3 separate regions of the Homo sapiens genome follow, and all the other regions are linked to region 1. Evidence: promoter capture Hi-C in human tissues and cell types (Jung and others, 2019). All regions are on one chromosome and are shown on one strand. The core of a region is centred on a gene start or on the middle of the fragment in contact, and the rest is flanking DNA. Distances in the headings are between cores, read along the strand shown. Region 1 holds the start of AFAP1L2 (actin filament associated protein 1 like 2). Region 2 overlaps AFAP1L2 (actin filament associated protein 1 like 2). Region 3 overlaps ABLIM1 (actin binding LIM protein 1).

Region 1 (3,710 bases), core at 590-3,089:
ACCAGCATCTGTTATTTTTTGACTTTTTAATAATAGCCATTCTGACGGTATGGTATCTCATTGCAGTTTTGATTTGCATTTCTGTAATGATCAGTGTGAAGCCCACGAGTTTGAGGCTGCAGTGAACCAAGATTGTGCCACTGCACTCCAACCTAGGCAACAAACCAAGACCTTGTCTCTAAAAAAATAAAAATTAAAATACACATTTGGAAGCAGACAGATCCGAGTTTAACGCCTGCTCCGCTCTTTTCTAGCTGTGTGACTTTGAGCAAATTGCTTAACCTCTTTTCTTTTTTTTGAGACGTAGTCTCACACTGTCACCCAGGCTGGAGTGCAGTGCGCAATCTCAGCTCACTGCAACCTCCATCTCCCAAGTTCAAACGATTCTCCTGCCTCAGCCTCCCAAGTAGCTGAGTTTACAGGCCCCTGCCACCAAGCCCAGCTATTTTTTTTTTTTTTTAGTAGAGATGGAGTTTCACCATGTTGGCCAGGCTCGTCTCGAACTCCTGACTTCGTGATCCGCCCGCCTCAGCCTCCCAAAGTGCTGAGATTACAGGCGTGAGCCACCGCGCCCAGCCGTAGCTTCTTCACCTCTATGAAAGAGATCATAATAATACCCATGTCACAGGGATATCGGGGAAACTAAAGGCAGTGATGTACAGCCCTTAGCGCCGTGCCTGGCTTGTGGGGAGGGCTCCATCCACATTAGGTGCTAGTATAACTAAGAAAAATATTTCTACATGCTGTTGGGAGGGGTTGGGGGAGGTCTCCAAACATCACAACTAAATCTGCGATTCCAAGGAAGAATTAAGAAGTCTTTTAGAAAACCACCACTGCCAAATCTTCCTTAATTGTTCCTTCAAGGAAGCTGGGGAACTTAGGTAACCAACCAGGCACCCAGCACAAACCGTGACTGAGATTTTAAAGTGAAAACTGAAAAAGTTTAAAAGAACACATAGATCTCTGGGGGGAGCACGGAGAAGACTAGGTCGCATTAAGGGCCTGGAAGGACCGGTGGCAAAAGGCAAAGGATGGAAGTGTGGCACTTCTGGATGGAGGCAGTGCAGGGTGGAGATTCAGAGCCATGGCCGAGCTTCCTTATGGAACCGGCGCCACCCCTCCAAGGCGGTCAGGTTTACTGGGCGCCCCGGAAACGGCACTCCCTGACTTGTGGCGTTGGCCCTGGAAATTCAGGTAGAAAGCAGCAAGCAGATGTTTTCACACACCCTGAAGTGTGCGCGATTGGCAGCGGCTGCCCAGAGAGGTTCCAAGAGAGTGGGAGCAATCCCCAAAGAACCCGGAGCAGGTTTGGTTGCCCGCCCCGCTGCCCTCCTCGCCCCTCCAGGAAGGCCTAGGGCAAAAGCGCGCTGGCTCGGGAGCCAAGCGCGAGGAGCTCTAAGCCAGTCTCAACCTCCTAGCTTGGACCTCGGTCTCCTCCTCCAGGCATTGGGTTTGCAGCGGGCAGGGGTGTGGGAACAATCTTGGAGGCCCACCCAAGCCCGGCCTCCCGGAGCCTCCCCCAGAGTTTGGGAACGTCCCAGTCTCGTTCCCTCTCGACGCCCCCGGAGTCAAGACGTGAAGGGAGTGCCAAGGCGGCCGGGGGCGGCGAGCGGGGCCGCGGGCGCGCACCGACTCAAGAGCCGACTGTCAGCCTCGGCGGGCCGGAGTTCTCCGGCGCTGGGACAGGGGCGCTGGGACAGGGGCGCTGGGGGCGAGCCCTGGCGGGGGCCAGGTCCGAGGACCCTGGGCGCGGCGGCCCCGCCAGGAGGTCCGGCCGCGAGCGTGACCTCACGGGGAGGGGCCAGCGCGGCGGCCTGGGCGCTGAGCCGAGCGCCGGGAGAGCAGCGCAGAAGCCGAGCCGCGAGGAGCGCACTCCGTGGCCCCGATGGAGCGGTACAAAGGTGAGGGCGCGGGTTCCTCGCGCGGCGCACACCCACTCCCTTTCGCCCAGCGACGCGGAGGGCAGGGCTAGGACTCGTCTTGCCAGGACTCGGGATAAGCAGAGCCCACTGCCCCCACCCAGCCCGGACCTGGGCCTAAGAGGGGGCGACAGCGGCGCCGCGGACTGGGCGGGTGGGCTCCTAGGTGGCTGCTGCGGCCCGAGCCCTTTGATCCTCCCGGGCGCGGAAGGAGGGGGTCGTCAGTGGGGGGCGTGGCGGGGCTTCTCACCTGTTGCAGGAGAGAGGGTGAGCCCGGCACCCCACTCCACCCTCAGTCCCGCCGCACAGGAAAGATGCCTGGGGCCGAGGAAGCCCCGAAGAAGGTGGGAACCGTGCTGAGCTGCTGGGGGCAAAGGGTCGGGCTGTTGAGTCCTTTCTCCCGGGCGCCCGCCGGGCTAGGGGCTTCCTGCTCCCGGCAAAGCGCTTGGGCAGTGGAGTGGGCGCGCAGACCCTCCCCGGGCTAGGTGGGGCCTCCCCAAACGTCCTGCCGTTCGGGTCATCGTTTCTCTCCAAGCCCTTCTTTGCTCCCCCACACCAAGAAAGGAGGGATGCGAGGGTCGGGGGCCGAATGGAGTGCCCGGCAGGTGGAGCTCCTGGAGGCGTCCGGACCCGAGGGCTTAGCTCAGTGCGCAGCTGGGCGAGCTTTGGGTTTGGCGGGGGCCAGGATCTCCGCCAAACCCCGGTGGGCGGGCCGTCCCGGGTGCGCCGGACGCCCAGCTTAGCACCCACACTCGGAGCCTCGGAGCTGGTCTACAAGTCTCGATTGCGGTTCTTTTGAAAAGGGAGTACAGGGAGTTGCCCCTTAAGAGGAACCCTGCGGGCGCTCCCCCCTCCCCCATCCTCCTGCAGACCCCTTCCCTTTGGAAAAGCCTCTTGCCTTCTCTTTTGCTGGACCGGTCTCCGCCAAACCTGCGGGAGGAAATGCTGCTTCTATATTTGTTTTCCCCTGGGAGAGAGTAATAAAAAGAGAACGCTCAGATTCCCAGGAATCTCACTCCCGGAGGGCTCTGATCCCTGAAACTGACATAAAGGGACCTGTTGGGACCGGCTTCCCTAAAGTAGTCTTGTCTTTCACTTTCCCATTGCTTTTTCTCATCTGGGTAGCCTGGTTACTGGTGAAGGCAAAAGATCCAAGTCCCAGACAGAGCTTCATATATTCAGGAAGGGTCTTTGCCGACAGCAGGGAGCCGGCGTGGGGGACAGGGTTAAAGGAGTTGGCCACCTTTGATTTCTTTCTGTGAACCCTCCCTGGAGCTTCTCTCGCATTTCTAACCCGGTGGTTTTCTTCTTCTCAAATTCTACTGGGATCACGTCAGTTTTGTGCTTGAATGACTGAATGCGCGCTTATGCTGTCTCAGACACTTGAGGAAGCCACAGTCCTGCTCCTTGTAACATGGCCGTTTGCACTCCCTCCCCTACTGGGGCCCCTCCGCCCTTCGGGAGGGACCCTCTCTGGGAATTCAGGCCTTGAGTTGAGCCTGACAGGAAGTGTTGGCCTCTGGGGTGCCTTCCAGCTCCCTGACTTGCAAAGCTGGGGTGTGTGTATGGGGGTGGGGGTGGTGTTAGTTGTAGGTTGCAAGCTACTTTCTCAAATCAGCATATTAATCTCTCTAAATCAGGGCAAATCACATTTGGGGTCTTTCAAAATGTCCCGTTATTCTCAGAAGGCTTTTGTATTAATAACTTTTGACTTGGCCCTTGACCTGATAAAAGTCTTCTTAGTTATCTTTCTCTCTCAGGAGCTTAAAATCCTCCCACCCTCGAAGAGGA
Region 2 (3,524 bases), core at 1,011-3,510, 48 kb after region 1:
ATTTTCTTTTACTGTTTGTTCTCAGAGGATATGATTTGATCACTGACAACTTGTACTAATAACCAGGGTCAAAATGGACCATAATTCTCCTGTATGTATATACGAATCTAGGCGAACAGTCGTCTCTTAGATATACCTTCTCTGCTAAGGCTCTATTTTCTTTTTTTTTTTATTTTGAGATGGAGTCTTGCTCCTATTGCCCAGGCTGGAGGGCAGTGGTGCAGTCTCAGCTCACTGCAACCTCCACCTCCCGGGTTCAAGCGATTCTCCTGCCTCAGCTTCCCCAGTAGCTGGGATTACAGGTATCTGCCACCACGCCCGGCTAATTTTTGTATTTTTAGTAGAGACGGGGTTTCGCCATGTTGACCAGGCTGGTCTCGAACTCCTGACCTCAGGTGATCCACCCACCTCAGGCTCCCAAAGTGCTGGAATTACAGGTGTGAGCCACCGTGCCCAGCCTAAGGCTCTATTTTCAAATGACTCTGGTTTTTATGATCATTATTATTATTATTGTTATTGTTATTTGTCATTGAAAGAAGAAAATGTAAGGGAGGCCAGCTGAGGTGATGGTGGAAGGAGTTAGAGTGATTTGAATTCAGATCTGGATTTTCTGGCTGTGTGACTTTGGCCAAGTTATTTAACCTCCCTGAGTCTGTTTCTTCATCTAAGGGATGATGAGATATACCATGTAGTTTTATTATGAGTCTGAGTTCAGTGAGATATCCTTTGTCATCATTTGGCTGACTTTATTATTAATAAAAGCAATTTCCCTTGTTTGGGTTGTAGACTTATTTTTCTTTGACTGCTTTATTATTGATAGCATTTTGTGTTATTTCCTTAACTGTAATTCTATCTTCCTAGTTTATTTCAATAGAAAATTACCCATCATAAAACCTATTAATCCTTGTTGCCGAATTTAGAGGTCATTGAATTTTTGCTTTACTTTATGCCAAATTATATTCAGAACAACAGAAAACAAAAGAGAGGCTTGTTTATTCCTAGGTTTTTCTAATTCAACTTCACTTTGAAGTGAGCAACTCCCGAACCACACTGGGATTCAGAGCTAGGATTGTTCTGGGGAGGCTGAACTCTCAGACATGATGCTTATACTGTAGGAATCTGGTTTGAGATTTGAGACAGACACAATTTTAGCATTGAAGGCCCTTAAAAACACTTAGAAAGTGTGTATTGTCAAAAGAAACTTAACACACTGCAAATAAGCCCCTGTGAGGGAATGGAAAATAACCGTGGTTGGAAGGACAGGAGCTGATTGACTAATGGTTGATTCTAAAATGTCACTGATTCTAAGAAACATTTCCTTTTAGTAGCACCCTATTTGAGGGACACAGCTACATTAATGCAAACAGAATTGCAACATGCATTCTTCTTTTATTATTTCAAGGAATACATGTAAATTAGAAATGGGGAAATTGGAATTTGCATGTTTATCTTCCCCACTGCATTGCTTAGCAAGACCCAGGCAGAGAGAGAGAGCCGATACTCACTACTGCTTTCAATGGAATATTGGATATTCCATATTGCATATCCAACATGGAATATTGGCTATGCAGTCACTACCTGGGAAATGTTGTTGTGGGTAGACAAGGGTACTGTGAGATTGGGACAGGGAGGGGCTGAAATGCTGACCACACCTTGGGGCCTTGTTAAAGCCTGGCTTCAAGGTCAAGGGGATAACAGTTCAGAGTGAGTATGAGTGTGTGTGGGTGTTGCATTAGAGAATGTGGTTACACCAGAGAAAGAGTAGCTAAAGAAATTTAAGGGTGTTTGAAGTTGGAGGCCACAGTGTTGGAGAAATTATAGCAAGGAGCATAGGCAGGGCAGGGAGGTGAGGATCCGAGGCGTCCTTTTGAGACTGGCCAGAAAGGGAAGAGAGGATTTGATTAAAGAGCCAAATGCAAACTATTCCCCAAATGAAATGCTCTGGAAGAGTCTGAAATTGTACATCAGCAGTTTCTTTTGACAAATTTTGGCTGAAACATTAAAGAAAAACAATGGTCCAACTCAAAACTCTGTGATACCTTTAGCTTGTTTATATAATGGGGCTTCAAGGGTTTAATTTAGAATATTTCTGTGATGAATAACTGGCTCTTGTTCATGTAAACAAAGTACAGCCTGCACGGAGTAACCACATTTTTTTCATCCAGGGCACAGCTGTTTTCCTGAGGAGAGAACTTTCCTTTTTTAGAGCCTTCTCACCTTGGTAAATCATGACCAACACATGTAAAAGCCCTTTTCCAAGCTTTACTCACTGCTCCCATGGAATTCTCATTCAAGAATAACCTTTCTTCTTTCCTTTGCTCTCTAGGATACAAAACTACTCGAAATTGGGTTTAGAAAGCCTTGGGCAGGAATAGGAAATTTGGGTTTTCTGTGCAACTTGGATGAAGTCCCTTTCTCTCTCTGAACATTGTTTTGTTTTGTTTTAATCAGAGGGATGACTTTTAAAAATGCTCTGATGTTTTAGATCAGTACTATCCAATAGAAATAAAATTTAAAACACATATGTAATTTTAATGACACTTAAATTTAAATTACATTTAACATTTTTAAACATGAAAAATAGATGAAGTTAATTTTAAGAATAGACTATTTAACTCAACACATCCAAAATATCATCATTTCAACATGTCATCAATATTTTAAAAATGTTTATTTTACATTCTTTTTGTTTGTTTGGCGGGGGAAACCGAAGTTTCTTGGAAACCAGAAGTTTTTTGGAAAGCAGGCACAAACTAATTTGGAGATAAAAACGGCCCTGAAATGATGTGAGGCGACTCATTATCTGTTTATCCCACTTACTATAAATAATTGTGTATTTTATTATAGAAATATTAATGTACTTTATTCCTGAGTATTTCCCCAGACTCTGCTGGGGGAATATGCACCATGTTACTGTTCCAAAATACACTGAATTTCAAAATATCTCTGGCTTTGGGAGTTTCAGATAAATGTTTTTCAAACTTTTTGATTGTGACCATAGTAAGAAATGTATTTTATATACATGGTAAGAAATGTATTTTATATTGTTCCCCAGGGTGTGCACACACACCTATGCACACACTGATGCACACACACATACACCTGAAACAATCTTTTTTGAGACAGGGTCTCACTCTATTACCCAGGCTAGAGTGCAGTGGCGCAATTACTGCTCACTGCAGCCTCGACCTCCTGGGCTCAGATTCTCCTCCTACCTCAGCCTCCCTGGTAGCTGAAACCACAGGCATGTGCCACCATGCCTGGCTAGTTTTTTGTATTTTTTGTAGAGATAGGGTTTTTGCATGTTGCGCAGGCTGGTCTCAAGCTCCTGGGCTCAAGTGATCCAACCACCTTGGTCCCCCAAAGTGCTGGGGTTACAGGTATGAGCCACTGTGCCCGGACCCGACAGAAATTTTTTGATAGAGTATGTGCCTTTATTAGATGGTATGCATTCAAATATTTTCTACTACATGTATTGCAAAGACTTTATTTTTAGAGCAGTTTTAAGTTCACAGCAAAACTCA
Region 3 (3,705 bases), core at 956-3,455, 52 kb before region 1:
TTGTCACTACAATAGATGAGAACACTAACAACTTAGGGTAGCCCAATCTGAGGACTTAAAGGAACAAAATAGCTATGAGTGTGATATATATATATATATGTACTATTGTATTATGTGCGCACACACACACACACACACACAGAGTAGTTTTGTTTTTTGTTTTGAGGCAGAATCTCACTTTGTTGCCCCAGCTGGAGTGCAGTGGTGCAATTTCGGCTCACTGCAATCTCCACCTCCCGGGTTCAAGCAATTCTCCTGCCATAGCCTCCTGAGTAGCTGGGATTACAGATGCCTGCCACCAACACCTGGCTAATTTCTGTATTTTTAGAAGAGACAGGGTTTCACCATGTTGGCCAGGCTGGTCTCAAACTCCTGACCTCAAATAATTCACCCGCCTCAGCCTCCCAAAGTGCTGGGATTTCAGGCATAAGCCATCATGCCCATGCCCGGCCTATTATTTTTAAACAGTATCTTATTCAGGGTTGATAGATGATGACAACGATGATGATGAAAATAATGATATCTTCCAAATATGATATTTCATCTGGTGTGTCACACATTACTTTGTTTAAGTAAGGAACTATGCACAGATGGCCTCTTAGGGCCCCCATAAGTTATTTCCTGCCAGGGTTGGGTTCAAAGTTATATCATTTAAATAGGGTATTGGCCAGGTGCAGTATCTCACGCCTGTAATCCCAGCATTTTGGGAGGCCAAGGCGCCACAGATCACTTGAGGTCAGGAGTTTGAGATCAGCCTGGCCAACATGATGAAACCCCGTCTCTACTAAAAACACAAAAACTAGCTGGATGTGGTGGCGCATGTCTGTAATCCCAGCTACTTGGGAGGCTGAGGCAGGAGAATCGCTTGAACCTGGGAGGCGGAGGTTACAATGAGCCGAGACTGCACCACTGCACTACAGCCTGGGCAACAGAGCAAGACTCTGTCTCAAAAAAAAATAAAAATAAAAATAAATACAGATAAGGTGTTTAATTTAGAAAAGGGAAAGAGGCCTCTTCCTGAGAATTTTCCTTTTTCTTTTAAAAATGCCCAAAATTTGTCATGCCTTTGGTATTTCAAGGGCTAAGAATTTGGTACCTAGCAACATTATGTATTCCAAGAACTTATTCCCCGATGAGCGGTTGTGATATGTGAAAAGCACATTCTGCAGAATTGCTGAGATGGGTGTGTTATTGGGTCTCTCTTTACCTGATTTTTAAAAATGCTTTGTGGGAAGTTTTAAATGATTATAGTTACATCTGCTTACAAAATTTGAACAAAGTAGTGTTTTTTTTTTTTTTTTAAAAAAAAAACAACTAGAGAGGTGAATGTTTGCTGAAGACATCCAGCCTAATATAGAACCACACCCAACTGGTGACAGCATTCAGCCAGAATCCAGTCCTTGGGAATTCAGACAGCTACTCCATAACCTTTGAGAGGCTTTGACCATATTCAAGAAGTGAGGGGCTTCTACAGGCACTGGCCAACACAGGGTCTTGTTGATAGAAATATTTTAATCCCTGGACAAATGTCTAATTCTAATAACCTTAAAGTTTGTGTCCTGCATATGCAGATATTTTTGTGTGTGCGTGACACTGGCTAATAATGATAAAAACTGATTTAATGGGGGTTCATTTGATTGTGTATTATAACCAAAACCTACGAGAACTTTCCTGGAAACATCTGATTTTCTGCAAGGACAGTGGAGGTCTATGTGAAAGAACAAAAGCATGGGGCAGGGGGGTTCAGAAGCAGTAGTAAAAGTTGAGACCCATTATACCTTCTTTCGAGAAAAGACCGTAAGAATGATTCTGTTTTTCAGTTATGGATTACTCTTGTTAATTTCTAATGTTCATAGGATTAAATCATTTTTCTTCAGTGAAACATTTATATTGGAGTTGTCAAAGATTAGCTGTAATGGGAAACTTATAAAAGGGGTGTTGTTGTGAGCCCAGTGCTGTACACAGGTCTTTACTTATCATCATCATTTACTTGGAAACTGTGACTTAAGTGAATTGAAATATTAAAAAAACTAGTTTTTCCCCTCATCAGTGTTCTAGGTTGAAATAAACGACGTTCTTCAAGGACCTGCTATATGTTGTTTTGCTTAAAGTTGCAGTTTCCAGCCGGGTGCGGTGGCTCACGCCTGTAATCCTAGCACTTTGGGAGGCCGAGGCGGGTGGATCACGAGGTCAGGAGATTGAGACCATCCTGGCTAACATGGTGAAACCCCGTCTCTACTAAAAAAATTCAAAAAATTAGCCGGGCGCGGTGGCGGGCGCCTGTAGTCCCAGCTACTCAGGAGGGTGAGGCGGGAGAATGGCGTGAACCCAGGAGGCGGAGCTTGCAGTGAGCCAAGATCGCGCCACTGCACTCCAGCCTGGGCGACAGAGCGAGACTCCGTCTCAAAAAAAAAAAAAAAAAAGTTGCAGTTTCCTGTAACCTGTTGATATTAAGTGAGGACTTATTGCACTAGCATCTGGCTTCCTTTAATTTAGAGAAAATTGATGGTGAATCTTGCCATGGTGCTTGCTAAATTAGGCCAATAAATAGCTGTGGAGGTAATTAATTGGCCTCCTTCAATCATTCATTCACAGACATTTATTAAGCACTTACTCCTGGCCAGGCGATACCCTGAGCACTGATGATGACAAATGAGACCAAGTTTTAATTCAGCAACAGGTTTAAAACACTATTTCCTTCTAAATGCAAATTATAATCTTCCTTCCCCTGTTTTCCTCTGTGTTTTTTATACTCATTTTTTCCCGATAGGAACTAGTTACTTCTCTTTAGGAGAGGGATAAATGAGATAACATTTTTATAAATTAGCTTTTTAATAGATCAATAGTTTGGGATGATATTTCATAATTTTTAGGAACTAATATATGACTTAAATAATAAAGTCAACATTATAACATATTTGGGTCTGGATGCTAAACCAGCTCTTGAGAAGAAAAGACAAAAGTTTCAGAACACCAATAACCAAAAGCCAGAAATCTAAATTTGACTCAGTAATAGACACAGATCCCATATTTGGAATATCTTACTGCCCATTTAGTGTAGATCTGTACTCTGGTTACTTAAAAATGTACATGCTGAGACATTAAAATTCTCTTAAATGTATATTCAAACGGTAACAATTGACATCTTTCACACTTGACTGGATAGATTTAGAAAAATTTGACCTGAAGCAACTGGCCAGACCTCTATTTTCTGATGATCTATGATTTATTTAAAATTATTAGTGTTAATAGATAAATAAATTGGACTTTATCAAAAATTTTAAACTTTTGTGCTTCAAAGAATTCCACCAAAAAAGTGAAAAGACAACCTACAGACTGGGAGAAAATATTTGCAAGTTCATATTATTTCTGACAAGAGACTTGTATCCAGAATATATAAAGAGCTCTTACAACTCAGCAGTAAAAGTCATTACCCCTACTAATTTATTGAGCTTTAATAGTCCTGCATCTTCTGGTGTCTTCTTGAGACAAGATGTTTGCCCAGACATAGGGTAGGAGGACAATTTAGGCCAGTTACAAATCTCTTTCTAATTTTGCACAAGCTGAATTAGTTTATCTTGGCCATTCTCCTGGTCAGAAGGGAGTGATGGTGGCTATGGTGGCACTTAAAGCTTTTGCAGCCACCCCTTTGCTCTCTTTTCTGCCCTGGTCCCTCTTCTCTCCTCCAAGAGCACCATGCCTTCC

What was found. Contacts are between HindIII fragments. The study calls those that stand out against the background at their distance.
Region 2: a fragment that was not itself captured here is called in contact with the fragment with the promoter of AFAP1L2 in region 1 in 2 of the 25 tissues and cell types used here (hippocampus and mesenchymal stem cells).
Region 3: a fragment that was not itself captured here is called in contact with the fragment with the promoter of AFAP1L2 in region 1 in 1 of the 25 tissues and cell types used here (spleen).

Annotation. Positions count from the first base shown.
Region 1 is chr10:114,402,631-114,406,340 of GRCh38, reverse strand. It overlaps AFAP1L2 (actin filament associated protein 1 like 2), which reads left to right and starts at 1,839. Exons shown (of 19, transcript NM_001001936.3): 1 at 1,839-1,901. The coding sequence starts at 1,886. RefSeq lists an enhancer at 1,304-1,804 and silencers at 1,758-1,837, 2,635-2,684. The HindIII fragment of the contact is 21,033 bases long and covers 1-3,710 here.
Region 2 is chr10:114,355,568-114,359,091 of GRCh38, reverse strand. The region is part of intron 1 of AFAP1L2 (actin filament associated protein 1 like 2); the gene reads left to right. Among named protein-coding and RNA genes, the nearest start is that of AFAP1L2, 47 kb to the left of the region's middle. The HindIII fragment of the contact is 6,713 bases long and covers 1-3,524 here.
Region 3 is chr10:114,454,531-114,458,235 of GRCh38, reverse strand. All of the region lies in intron 12 of ABLIM1 (actin binding LIM protein 1), which reads left to right. Among named protein-coding and RNA genes, the nearest start is that of AFAP1L2, 52 kb to the right of the region's middle. The HindIII fragment of the contact is 4,648 bases long and covers 1-3,705 here.